2 separate regions of the Homo sapiens genome follow, and region 1 is linked to region 2. The links are contacts of gene promoters, found by promoter capture Hi-C in human tissues and cell types (Jung and others, 2019). All regions are on one chromosome and are shown on one strand. Each heading gives the region's core, a stretch centred on a gene start or on the middle of the fragment in contact. The rest is flanking DNA. Distances are from core to core; before and after follow the strand shown. Region 1 overlaps LOC100131635 (hCG1645011-like). Region 2 holds the start of RTP1 (receptor transporter protein 1).

Evidence for each region. Contacts are between HindIII fragments. The study calls those that stand out against the background at their distance.
Region 1: a fragment that was not itself captured here is called in contact with the fragment with the promoter of RTP1 in region 2 in 1 of the 25 tissues and cell types used here (H1 embryonic stem cells).

The regions. Positions count from the first base shown.
Region 1 is chr3:187,712,995-187,719,844 of GRCh38, reverse strand. LOC100131635 (hCG1645011-like) reads right to left here. Exons shown (of 3, transcript NR_034062.1): 2 at 4,105-4,223. It also overlaps a transcript of RTP2 not described here. Among named protein-coding and RNA genes, the nearest start is that of RTP2, 14 kb to the right of the region's middle. The HindIII fragment of the contact is 4,270 bases long and covers 2,029-6,298 here.
Region 2 is chr3:187,195,600-187,202,343 of GRCh38, reverse strand. RTP1 (receptor transporter protein 1) reads right to left here and starts at 4,858. Exons shown (of 2, transcript NM_153708.3): 1 at 4,557-4,858; 2 at 882-2,793. The coding sequence starts at 4,828. The coding sequence ends at 2,274. It overlaps LOC101929106 (a long non-coding RNA gene), which reads left to right. Exons shown (of 5, transcript NR_110052.1): 3 at 2,231-3,116; 4 at 3,642-3,817; 5 at 4,314-5,254. The HindIII fragment of the contact is 12,407 bases long and covers 1-6,744 here.

The DNA of each region.
Region 1 (6,850 bases), core at 2,914-5,413, 520 kb before region 2:
CAGGGTCCCTTTGCTCCCAGAGTACCTCCAAGTTTGTTTGCATTTCATTACTGTTTAATAGAGAGATGGAGGGGCGAGGGCAGATAGTGTGGGTGGCCATTTAAACAAAAGGGAAGATCAAAGAGTGAGTAACTGCAGCCAATTGACAATCAATAATAACTAAAAAGAAAAGTCTCTAAGCAGATAAGCCAGGGCAAAGGGAATATAAAATGTTTACTAAAAAGCAAGATGTAAATGCAGCTTTTCACCCATACATGGAACATGCGTGGTGTTCTACATTGTGGGATTTTTAGAGGATAGGTTTCTGAGGATCAGTGTGATGAGGATGTGTAAGGGGTAATCCCAGAGAAGCGGGGTGGTTAGAATTATGCAGAGCTATTTAGTAGTTGGAAGGGAAGGGGTGGTTAGAATTATGCAGAGCTATTTAGTAGTTGGAAGGGATGGGGTGGTAAGATCACCTAGCTCAAATCTTGCACCTGACCCATGAAAGGATTGAGGCAGGAGGGCTGAAGGCACTTTCCTACTGCCGCCCAGAGCCTGGGGTGGAGAGTGGAGAACAGGCTCCTGCTCTTTACACAACCCTAAGGGAAGGAAAACCAGAGGCAAATGTTCCATTTTAATTTTTAATATTTATTTATTTATTTATTTATTATTTTATTTTTCTTAGAGATGGAGTCTTGCTCTGTCACTCAGGCTGGGGTGCGGCAATGGCACCATCATAGCTCACTTGAACTCCTGAGCTCAAGCAATCCTCTTGCCTCAGCCTCCAGAGTAGCTGGGACTACAGGGGCCACCACCATGCCTGGTTACAAATGTTCCGTTTTAGACATGGGGAAATGGAAGGAGGAACTAGTCCAAGGTCCCGCAGCTAAAGGTGTCCGGGTAGGCTGAGTTCGCACAGTGGTTGTCATTAGAACTTTAATCAGTTCAATTCAATTGTTAGGCCTCAGGCTTCTTGGAGAAATGAGCTATTCCCTTTGAAATCTGGGTTTCCATTTTCTCTCTCTGTCTCACTCATAGTAATAATTAATAATAAGGCTGGTCACGGTGGCTCACCCCTGTAATCCCAGCACTTTGGGAGGCCGAGGCAGATGGATGACTTGAGGTCAGGAGTTCGAGACCAGCCTGGCCAACATGGCGAAACCCCGTCTCTACTAAAAATACAAAAATTAGTCAGGCGTGGTAGCGCATGCCTGTAATCCCAGCTACTAGGGAGGCTGAGGCAGGAGAATTGCTTGAACCCAGGGGGTGGAGGTTACAATGAGCCAAGATCGTGCCACTGCACTCTAGCCTGGGCAACAGAGTGAGACTCTGTTTCAAAAAAAAAATTAATAATAATAATAAGTTGTCCTGTGTTCTATCAGAGACATGCATTGGTAAGCACTAAGAGAATTAGAATGAGGAATAGGAGCAGAGAAAAGCTGACCCCTGAAGAGTAGCTGGGCCACATTAACGGCAAAGCTCCAGAATGAGGTCTGCAGAACTAGGGTGACCTTTCAGGATCTAGTTCTATGAAGCTTATAATTGTGTGGGGGTTTCTAGTCTTAGATTTCTAGGATAATCCATCCCTCTTATAACCACTGTATAATGGGGTCACTGCCTTCATTTCTACACCACTGCCGTTACTTGGACTGGCCTGTATGAGTCTATTTCCTGGAACCAAAGGAGCATAATTTACACACAGATAGCCATGCTTCTGGGGAGTCTGCCATTAGAAGGACCCTTACGCTTCACAGATAGCCATGCTTCTGGGGAGTCTGCCATTAGAAGGACCCTTACGCTTCACAGATAGCCACGCTTCTGGGGAGTTTGCCATTAGAAGGACCCTTACACTTCTTTGACTAGGCCCAAGCTTCTCTATAGTGGAGGCCAAGGCATGCTGTAATCCCTCCAAGGTAAGAAACAAAATGTTATTTACCCAAAATACTGTACCCAGTTGGAAAGTGAATGTTCCTCCCATCCCAGAGCAGAGATAGGAAGCTTCAAAACAGTACACAGAAGCCCAGCCCTACCATGGGAAGGCTGCCCATTACATGAAATATAGCATCCAGGGCCTGCCTCCAAAGAAGAGAAAGCTTCAGCACTCACTAAGAAAGTGGCCTTCTCTCATTCCCTATGACTCATGGGAGAAAAAAAGAAAAAAGATTAACACAAAAAAGTGGCCTTCTAGAAAGACAGATGCCCAGGCAGGAGGACTTTGGAGTCTAGGAAGGAGACCTAGTGGGGTTTACAGCCCCTGGGTACTACATTGCTCCCAAACGTTTGGGGTCTAGCCCCTTATTAAATGAGGCTGACTCATTTAACCCCAGATGACAGCTGCTCAACATATCTAAAAGATGAGTTTCCTGGGTCTTTCTTTCCCTTTAGGACCCCAAGAAGGCAGGTTGGTTATGTAAATACATATGGAGTTGGGATCACAGAATATTGTAACTGGAGAGAGCTTAGTGATAATAATTCTTCCATAGGCAAGGAAACCAGGCCTGAAAAGAAAGGTGACATGCTTAAGGTCACACCAAGAATTCTTATCAAACATCACCTGACTCCCAGTGAGGTTTGTAACGTGGTTCCAGCCCTCAAAGGTTCGTAGTCAAAATCACAAAACAAAACATGGACATATATGGAAGGAAAATTACAAGGAAACACCAAAATATATAAAACTATGGCTAATAAATTATGTTCCTCAATGAAAACATATAGGCACAGGGAGGGAAACATCACACACTGGGGCCTGTCGGGAGCTGGGGGCTAGGGGAGGGATAGCATTAGGAGAAATACCTAATGTAGATGATAGGTTGGTGGGTGCAGCAAACCACCATGGCACATGTATACCCATATAACAAAGCTGCTCATTCTGCATATGTATCCCAGAACTTAAAGTATACTAAAAAACTGATGTTCCTATGGATTCTGCATATCTTGAGAAGGGGCATGTTCAGAATGGCAAATTGTCCATTCACGGCAGTACAAGGTGGACAGCCATGTTGAGCTGGTGGCCCATGGAGAGGCTCTCTCAGGGTTCTCGTGTGTCTCCCATTTGTTCTGTGGAACTTCAGTGCCTCCTTCCATCTGGACAGAGCTGTCCTTTGATGTCACCAGTAGGAGTCACCTCTAGCGGTGTAATTAGTTTGCCAAGGCTGCTGAAACAAAGTACCACCAGCTGAAATGGCTTAAACCATAGAATGTTATTGCCTCATGGTTCTGAAGGCTGGAAGTCCGAGATCAAGGTGTTGGCACTGTTGGTTTCTTTTGAGGGCTGTAAGGAAGAATCTGTTCCAGCCTTCTCTCCTACCTTCTGGTCATTTCCTGGCAATCTGGCACTCTTTGGCTGGTAGAAGCATCACCTCAATCTTTTCATCTTCACATGGTGTTTCTGTGTTTGTGTCTCTGTATCCAAAGTTCTTCCCTTTTTATGAGGTCATCACTTGTGTTAGATTAAGGCCCACTCTAATGATCTCAACTTAACTAATTATATCTGCAACGACCCTATTTCCAAATAAGGTCACATTCTAAGGTACTAGAAGTTAGGACTTCAACGTATGAATTTTGTGGGGACATGATACAATTCAACAGAGGCTGTTCATGGGAAGAAAGATGAAGAAAAATGCTCTCAGAAAAGGCACCACCCTAGCTTCTCGTTTTCACTTTCTTCTCGCTGTCAAAGACTCAGGGAATTGAGATTTGGAGAGCCTTCTCATTGCCAGTAGGCTTTACACTCACGGTCTCAATTACCCTCACGACAACTCACTGAAGTGGGTTTGTCTTCCCTCTTTACAGATGAGGTGAATGGGGAACAAGAAGGTCATGGCACTCAGCTAAGATCAGGCAATACGTCTCTTTTTTCTTCTCTAGCTAGTTTTGTCTTTTATGTCACTGGTGGGTCTCTGTCCAAAAGAGCACGACAGGACAAAATAATTGTGCTCTGTGAACGACACACTTTGATCATGCAGATGGGAGAAAGCTGTAGATCTAGGTAGGTCTTTAAGAAATAGGAATCACCAAGAACTTACATACCAGGCCATCATGGGCTTGACAAAAACCTCAACAAGAACTGGAGACTATTATAGTTAATCATGTCTTGAATTATCATGGAGTATTTGAGCTTACCCCACTGATGGTCTCATCCAGCAGTTCTGTACCATAGGAAGATTTCAGACATTCTGCTTCTTGCTCTCCAGATGATTCTGACTTAGAACCAGTGGTGAGAATTCTGATCGAATCCAACTCTATCATAAAGGAAAGGAAGCCAAGTGACATTAAGCAAAGAAATTCTATAAGGACTAGGACACAGCTCCCCCAAGGCCTATGCCAGTATTAGTTCCTCGGAAATAATACTACCATGATTTCCTATTTCCAGAAACCTCAGTGCTGCCACTAAATGGTTACCTTCTTCATATACATTCATGTATCTGATTACTTCTTTGACAGAACCCTGGCGGGGGGAACCTTATATCAATGAACAGGAATTATAAAGAGGAAGAACTCAGCTTGATAGAATAAAGGATTTCCTGTGTCTAAAGATGGAACGGGCTTTGGGTGAGCATCTGAACTCATCACTGAAGGTGATTTAAGCTTAAGATGTGTGGTGAGTTGGCAGCAATCTTGGCTTGCAGGGAGGGTTGGATTAAATGACTCTAAGGTCCCTTTCAAACTTGAGATTACACAAGATCCTACCCCATTTAGAAACTGATTTTAATCATGGCGAGGGATTCAGAGTAAGTGTTTCCTCCTAGGAGTCTCAGGACAGCAGGGCCATGGAAGTCTGGGGGCCATTTGCGGAGGGTTGTAACCTGTAACCTGTAACCTGTAACCTGAATTGCCCTGCACTCCAGGGACCAAGTTGTGTCTTTCTTTGTTTTTTGTTTGTTTGTGTTTTTTTTTTCCTAACGTACAGAGGCTTACAGTTTCATACATATCATTTTCTAATAGTGAGGCTATAATCTATCTCCCATCATTTCTACCTGGTGCACCCTATTCTTCAGTCACATGGAGAAGCTCACCATTTCCCAAACCTGTGAGGCTTCAGTGTCTTTGCAAACACCAAGACCCCTGCCTAGCAAGTCTCTTTTCTCCATTTACCCTCCCTTCAGTCCCTCTCTTCTTCCAGCCTGTGAATTTCTTCAGCCTGAACAACTGTGAGCGTCTGTACAGGTTTGTTGAGTGACGGAGCAAAGGAGTGAGTGCATGATTAAGGGTTCCTACTGGTCCCTGCTTTCTCTGAGGCTGTTCTACTGGTGCATTCTAGCAAATAGCCACAAGGTGGCAGGGTAGACCAAGCAGTGAAGGCTGTAGGTGCCACTTTTTCTGGCTCCAGGGAAGCAGGAAGGTATAAATGGGGCCAGTGCTATTTTTTGAGTTGGTCTCCTATGGCTTTGTACCTATTCTCTTTCTAAATCCTCTTCGTCATCTCAGCAGAGCCATTTAACAGAACTGACTGAGGGGCTCTGGCCCCCAAATCTTTCTTTCGGAGATCTACTTGAATGTGTGTAAAGTTCCACTCTGAATCATTCCTTTGGGGATCAGGAATTTCCAGCTCTTCTCGAAAAGGTAAGGGGTTATATCTCAATTCTTGGGCAAAAGAGGCCAATTCCTAGTAGAACTGTGGAGAGAGGCAGGGGTTTATGATATGACACTAATCTAGTGTCTAGTATAACAAACTTTACAAATCACAAAAGCCTTTCATCTCCAAGGGTTCACTTAATCCTCACCACAATCTCGCCAGTTAAGGAAGCAAGATATCCCATTTGGCAAGTGACAAAACTGAGGTTCGGAGAGGAGAGCCTAAGAACACCTGGCTAGCGGGTGAGGGCCGAGAACAGACCATTTGCCTTCTGACTTGCTGTCAGACACTCAGCTAGCACAGGCAGTAACTTTGTGTGTCAGTGGTTGAATTAACAAAAAGGTACACCTATCTTTGTGAGGCAGGAGAATAGGGTCTGGAGACAGAGAACCTAAGGCCAATTTGCACTGGTTTCCTAGAACTGAATAAAAAGGAAAACCCCATCTCTCCACACCCAAGTAACAAAAGGATCCGAGGCTACTCCCTTTGCAACTTGCTCCCCCCACCCCTCCTGCTTTTCTGCCTTGCAAATTAAAAATGAAAGTACCTCTGATTGGTCCCCTCCTGCAACCAATCAGACTGATTGTAGGCCTAGTCTTCACTTGCATAGGGTGTAACTTTGTAACTTCATGTTAGCCTCTGATTGGTCACCTTCCATGTCCAATCAGATTGGTTGTGAGCCACTACTTCATTTACATAGGGTGTGAACCAAGTAATCAATGGGAAGCCTCTAGAGGGTATCTAAAGCCCAGAAGATTCTGTAACCAGCGTTCTTGGGGTGCTTGCTCAAGCCCACTGCCAGTCTGTGGAGTATACTTTCGTTTCAATAAATCTATGCTCTCTTTGCTTTATTCTTTCATAGCTTTGTTTGTGCATTTTGTCCAATTCTTTGTTCAAAATGCCAAGAACCTGGACACCTTCCACTGGTAACATTTGTGTACCCTTGAGCACAGCTTTTTCAACTCACAACAGTGTAAGGAGAAAATTTAGGCTTTTAGGGTTGGTATTCTCTTAGGGTCAAAATTGTAAATTCTGGGAGTAGACAGAGAGGAAGCCACTGGGACATGCCATGGCGCCCACCACCTGCATCACAGTGTAGGCCCGTGTCCCTGGACGGCTGGTGCCTAGGCTGTGGGCTGGGTACATCTCAATCTCCTCCCTGCTCCCCTTCAGTGCTGAGGGCCTGAGGAGGTGCCCCTTAAGCACTGGTCTCCTGATTACACTCAATGACTCTGGGTGGTTTTGGGTGGGAGACAGCATCAAATCCCTGCTGTCCTGGGCCCTGCCACAGTG
Region 2 (6,744 bases), core at 3,609-6,108:
GCAGAGCTCAGTGACAAAGACTCTCAGAGCAGAACACAGCCATTGTAGCAGCAAACCTGCAGGAGCAAGGGAGTGTGAGGGACGGTGAACTCCCCAGAGCACAGGCTGGGGGTGAGTAGGGCAGCTAGAGAAAGGGAAGCCGAGCCCCAGTCCTAAAGAATCCAGGGCAAATCATCAAGGAAGATCTCAGGGCTCATTTTTCATAAAACTAGATGCAAAAGGAAGTCTATCCCTCAGTTAGAAGGCATTACACCAGGCAGTACAGGTCGATCACCTGGGTGTTTTATTCTAATTCAGATGCTCAGGTCCCACTTCCCCCAAATTTTGATCCCATTGGTCTGGGGTAGAGGCTAAGTACTTATATTTCTTTAAAATCTCCCCAGAATTTCTGAAGTACAGCCAGGGCTGAAAACTTCTGTAGCAAGCAGAGATGTCTGAGAAACCAGAGAGCACCCCCTATATTCCGCTGCACCCACAGTATTCATTTCTTCCTCTAGTCTGCATATTCTGAACACCTACTGTCTAGCAAGTAAATCAGGACTTGCTAGATAGCAGGTGTTCAGGATATGCGGACTAGATGAAGAAATAAATACTCTGTGAATGAAGTAAAGGAAGCCATCGCTGCTTACTTGAATTCGAGCCAGGATAGGAGTAAAACTGACCTTATGCTGATCCCCTGAATGACTGACTTCCATCCCTCCTGACTGTGGACGAGACTGGCCAAAAACTGGAGCTAGATAGAGCCTTATGTGGCAGTGGGGTCAGGGGGCAGAAGGGAGAAAAGGGGAGACAGGGTGGCGGGATGGAGGGGACCAATAGCTCATTACAGATCTGGGACAGTGGGGGAATCTCAAACACACATTAATGACTACTAAGCCTTATGGAAGATATCCTGTCTTTATTAAAGTGTCCCATCTTTATATAAGTGACCCCCTTCCTCCATCACTACAGATGATGGTGACTTTCTATTAAAGAGGAGAGTAGTCAAGTTTTTAACAGAGGTGGGGTAAATGAGGCCCCTCAAAAGTGCAGCTTGCTGCCTGTCCCCACCAATTCCATTCCAGACCCCCCACTGTCAGAAAGTGTCTCCTCCCATTTCAAGCCATATCACATCTCATTTTAGAGCCTTGTAAGGTTCTCCCACATATCTGTGCACTTCCCCATGGACAAAGCATTTTACATCTTTAACGCCCTCTCTCTTGCTGAAGATACCCCATCCCTGTGGCTTTAGGGGGACAGCTGATCTTTGGCAAGAGGCCTCATGCTTGGCCAATGTGAGAAAGCCATTCAACTATAATTTCAGCAAAGAACCCAGGAGGCCAGGCCCCTGCTCCTGAATTCTGGCCATCAGCACTGCTGAGAATCTGCTAGACTTGGTCCCCGAACTCTGAAGACCCTCCATTATAATGCCTCCCAGAGATTTTGTGCTTTGCTTCTAAAACTCTGTCTTCTGAACCTCCCCTAAATTCTCTGCCAGTTAATACGCAGTGGGTGAGAAGCCTAACTCTATGAGACCCCACCCCAACCACCATCTTTCAGGCAGGCAGACCCCAGAATCTGCCCTGAGTGGAAAGAAGCTGGAATCTGAGAAACAAAAAAAAGAGACCCTGTGTACCTGGCAGCAAAGGAACAGCCTGATCTCCCACCTCTTGCACTTCAAGGGAAACCTCTGCTGCGTGTGTGAAGGCAGAATCACGGATGAGGCTCACAGGGTGGGCAAAGAAGCTAATTTAAGGCTGCAGCTAGAGAAAGTGGGAGATCATGAGGGGCAGGGGTGAGGGACTAATAAGAGCAAGGTCGAGCTCATTACTGTGGAAAGCCCTTTTGAGATCACCCAGTCCTCTAATTTTCAAACTTTTTAAAAGTAGTTAAACTTTTTTTTTTTTTTTTTTTGGTACAAAAATCTTAAATGGAACCCTATCTAAAGTAAAGCTGTTCTGATCGAAGCAAGAGGAGGAGGTAGGAGTTGGAGGATGGGTGTTTAGATCAGGAGTTGGAGACACCCACTAGCTTAGCCTACTTTCCAAATCCAAAAGTCCCTGAGGCACCTACGCAGAACTTTGGGGTCCTGGGTTTCACTATGATAAACCAATGATCTTGCCCAAACCCTGAGTTTTATAGATGGAAAAACTGTATAATTTGTCCAAGATCCCCACTGAGTCAGTGACATCACCAGCGCTAGAAGTTTACACTATTCTCAACCCACGTCTCTCCTCTACCCTCGCATCAGCTAACTGGCACCCTCGACAGGCTCTGGGCCCAACCACGGAATCTTATACGGAGCTACGGAAAGAGAACTGCAGGTAGATGATCAGCAGCAGGACCGTGGCCCAAAACAAGCACCAGGGGATAGAGCAGAAGTTCCAGCCTGAGCCCGTCTGGTCCTGCGACTTGGTGGGGCTGGGCGCCCGGGAGAAGGTGTAGGTGGTCGCCTCCTCCTCCAGCAGCTTCTCGCTGGGCTTCCAGTGCACGATGCCCTCCTGGCAGGCCTCGCAGAACTCTCCGCGGTGCCGCCGGTTGTCCTGGCGGCTGGCCACGTGGATGCGGTACTGGCCGCCACGCTCGCCGTAGCACTGCTCGCGCAGGCTGGTGATGAGGTTGTCCACCAGGCCCTCGATGTTCTCCTCCAGCATGCTGGACTCGTCCAGCCGCGCCGTGCCGCACTCATAGCACAGCTGCTTGAAGACGCGCATGCGCACCGAGCCCGCCCGCTGGGCGCGGTCCAGGAACATGTGGAAGAGGATGACCACGTAGGGCGACTGCCAGGTGTGCCAGCACCAGGAGCAGTGGAACCTGCGGAGACGGGAGGAGAGGGAGGAATAGAAGACGGGCGGAGGTGGTGGAAACAGCCCTAGGAATGGCGTGAGGGGACGTGGAGGCTAAGCAGAGCCTGGAGGTGGAGGAAGTGTGTTGCCGGCGCCCTGGGTTCATTAGCTTTCCCCAGGAAGCCACTCAGCCTTGCAAGTGCCCCTAGGACTACAGCAGGTTCCTCAGGATGTCACCGGGCATCCAGCAGTGCTCTACCTCCTCAGTGCTTTCCAGAGGCCTAACTCCCACCACCCCAGCATTGGGCGTCATTCTTATTCCTCATGGGCAAAATGCGCTTGGTGCACTAGGTGAGTCCTTCCTTCTCACACCAGATAAGAAACACATAATCCATCTGCACATTTCTATCTGTTAACACTGACTGTGAACAGGCTAGATCCAAATTAGGAGAAAATGACACCATTACTAGCTATCAACGTCCAGGCCAGTGTCAGAGTTAATGCATCACAAGGCCTGGAGGTGGAGGCAGTCTGTGCCCAGATCCCCAAGGCCTGTAGTCTCCCAGGCCTGACTGGGGCCAGCTGGGGATTACAGGTCCCCAGCCAGGTCTGGGGCAGCCACAAGCCCTCCCCACTCAGCCCCCACAGCCTTCCAGGTCTTCAAGAAGCTCCTGATCCTGCCTGTAAGTGTCCAGCCCTTGACACCCCTCCTGTCAGCCAGTTTAGGAGCTTCACATTTTCATTCTCTTCTTGTTCACACATCTTTTGGGGACTGTTTCCTCTCTCAGACCAGACTACAAAACCTGGATTGAAAAATGTCGTAACTAGAGGGACCTGGAAATCACCTAATTAATGTTTTCTTTTATGCTGAGACAGAGTGAGAGAGGCATCCATGTACACACAGCTAGAGGCAGAACCGGCGCCCAGCACGTAACAGGTGCCCAGTAATGTTTCCTGAATTGAAGTGAATTGGCTGAACCAGGGCAAGCAGGAAGGCCTTGCTTCTGACTTCCAGGCTGCACCACTCAGCCTCCCCATCTTATGTCTCAAAGGTAAGCCCCTACACTCTGGACCCATGAACAAGAGTGCTAGAAATTCATCTCAGATAGTTTTTACATACTAATCACCTAGAACTCTTCTTGAAATCAGATTCTGATTCAGATCTAAAAGGGGCCCAAGATTCTGCTTTCTTAACAAATTCCAGGTGATGCCGATCCTGCTGCTCTGTGGACCACAGGCTAACCTCTCACTGTGCAAAAGGAGAAAGCCAGGTCCAAGAAGAAAATCGAGTTCCTCAACAGCCATGGAGCCAATGATAGAGCCAGTTTCTGGCACATCTCATGTATTCAATATTTTAAGTGAAATTAAGTTGAGTTAAATAGATTTAAACCGGTCCCAGGACCAGAGCACGGACGTCTCGACCCCCAGTGGGCCTCAAACCCTTCTTCTCTGGTTTTAAACTACTTTTTAAGAGACTGTTAAAATAGAAAATATGTAAAATGTCAGTGTGTAGGACTCATACGTATATTCTATGTCTTTATTTTCCAGACGGAAAAATTGTGACTCAGAGAGGAAGAGTAACACAGGTGATCAGTAGAAGAGCTGAAATCCAACTCAAGTGTCGTAGTTCCCAGTTAGGGACTCTTTCTCTGACTTCCAGTCTACGCCAGCCTAATAGTGAGATTGAAGCTAAACACTTGGGTTCTACGTAATCTTCCTCTCCTTGGAAGGTGCCCCAGAGCTAGGGACCTAGAGGCGGCCTGCAGGGATCCACCTTCCTGGGCTACTCACCTGCCTGAAGCATGCAATTCCAGGTACTGCTTCCAACCAGGGCTCAGCACATTGTGCTTGAGGTTGGGGTCTATGATGAGGTCCCAGCTGTCAGCCGGCTTTGCCTCCTCCATCTTCTCATAGAAGACTTTCTTCCACTCATCTGTGGTCACGCTTTTACACATGGTCTCGTCAGTAGTGAGGGAAGGCAATTTCCACCTTAGTGAGAACACGGAGAGTGAGGGTAGGTGCAGGGCAGGGCAGCGCAGTCTCCACGGTCTAAAAATCCTCATCGACAAGACCAGGAGGAAGCAGGACCCAGCTCCCTCCTTTGTCCGCAGTGGAACCTGTTTCCACGGCAACCAGGCAGGTTGCCAGAAGACAGAGCTTGGGGAGGAGGGAGTCTCTGAAGAGGTGTTTCAAGGCCCTGAACTGAGATTGCAGAGGCAGAGTTTGTGGGTCTAAATGATCCAAGACAGAGTGGGGGACCTGACCAGAGATTGAGCTTCAGACCATCTCACCCTGGCCTGGAAAGAGTATGGGGAGGTGAGGACTGGGAACTGGCTCAGTTTCACCTTGCCGTCCCCTGGAGGCATCATCAGCATCTGGCTGCTACGGTAACCATGATGCCTTAGGCAGCCAAGGAGAAATGAGGGATGGGGAGATGTAAATTTGTTAGTAGATGGAGCAATAATAATAAACTCTCTCTCGGCTTCCCCAGCCATCTTGTGACCAGCACTTTGCCATTTTCAAAACACAATTGGAGGTCTCTTAAGTTATGATTACTATTGCTGCAGTACAGATCAGGAGCCTAGGACTCACCTAGCCTATAAATGGCGGAGCCTGTATACAAATTCAAGCTGTTGACCCCAGACCGGTTCATTAATTCATTCATTTCAAACATATCCGAGCATGTGGGTAGGGTTTGCAGACATGTGCCAAGCTCTATGTCAGTGCTTGTAGCTGACTGTGTACTGAATAACTGTGCAATAGGATCCATGCTGCAATGGCCTTGTGCAAGAACAGCCACCTGTGCACAAAGGTAGGAGCATTGCATCAGCCAGGCAGGAGCAGACAAGATTATTTCCAAGCTGATTATAGAAGCGCAGAAGAGGAGCACCACCCACAGGCAAAACAGCCTTTACTATACATGCCTCTGCTGCTATTTTTAATAAATTATTTTTCCTTTTAAAAAATCATATGGGTTTATTCTAGAAAAAATACAAAATATAGATGAAAGAAAAGAGAAGTAAGACTCTTCCATAAAACCCCACCCGAGATGACTACTGTTAACATTACGATATGTACATCCCGCTTACCATTTTTCTGTACATGTACAAGTGTATGTGTGTGTATATACACACACATTCTGTACACCACATACATTCTATATACCACATTGTGACATTTTCAAAAAATAATACGTCATGAATATTTTTCTAGGTCATATTCCGTAGTAGTACATTATGGGCTACCTATATTCTGTTATATGGATAGGCATAATTTATTTAGCCAATCCTGTCTTTTAGGGCATTTTGGTTTTATTTCAGTTTCTCACATTACACTCTTCCCATCTATTTGTATAAACTTGTTGACGAAGCTCATCGCATGCATTAGAAACAACACTTCCTACAATTGGAAAACACGTCTCTTGACTCCACTCTCTCCAAAAGCTTGGTGTGGCTAGCAGAATCTGAGCAGGCTCTTCAAACAGTATGAATTTTGGACAGCCAGCAGATCTTGAAGTTTAGTGATGAAAAAGAGGGACTTAAAATCACCCATCTGATACCAGAAACCATCTTCCAAGTGCTTCTCCTGCCGCTTCATGGATGTTTGATGCCTTGATTTACACTATTTTAACCTCAGTTTATTCATCTTCTCAGTGGGATAATAACAAAACAGTATCTGCTGTGATTAAAAGCAGGGGCTTTAGAATGGCTTGCCTGGTTGTGGTGTTGTTGTTGTTGTTGTTGTTGTTACAGAGTCTCGCTCTGTTGCCCAGGCTGGAGTGCAATGGCACAATCTCGACTCACTGCAACCTCCACCTCCCAAGTTCAAGTGATTCTCTTGCCTCAGCCTCCCAAGTAACAGGGATTACAGGCATGCGTCACCACACCTGGCTGATTTTGTATTTTCCGTAGAGATGGGATTTCACCATGTTGGCCAGGCTGGTCTCAAACTCCTGACCTCAGGTGATCTGCCTACCTTA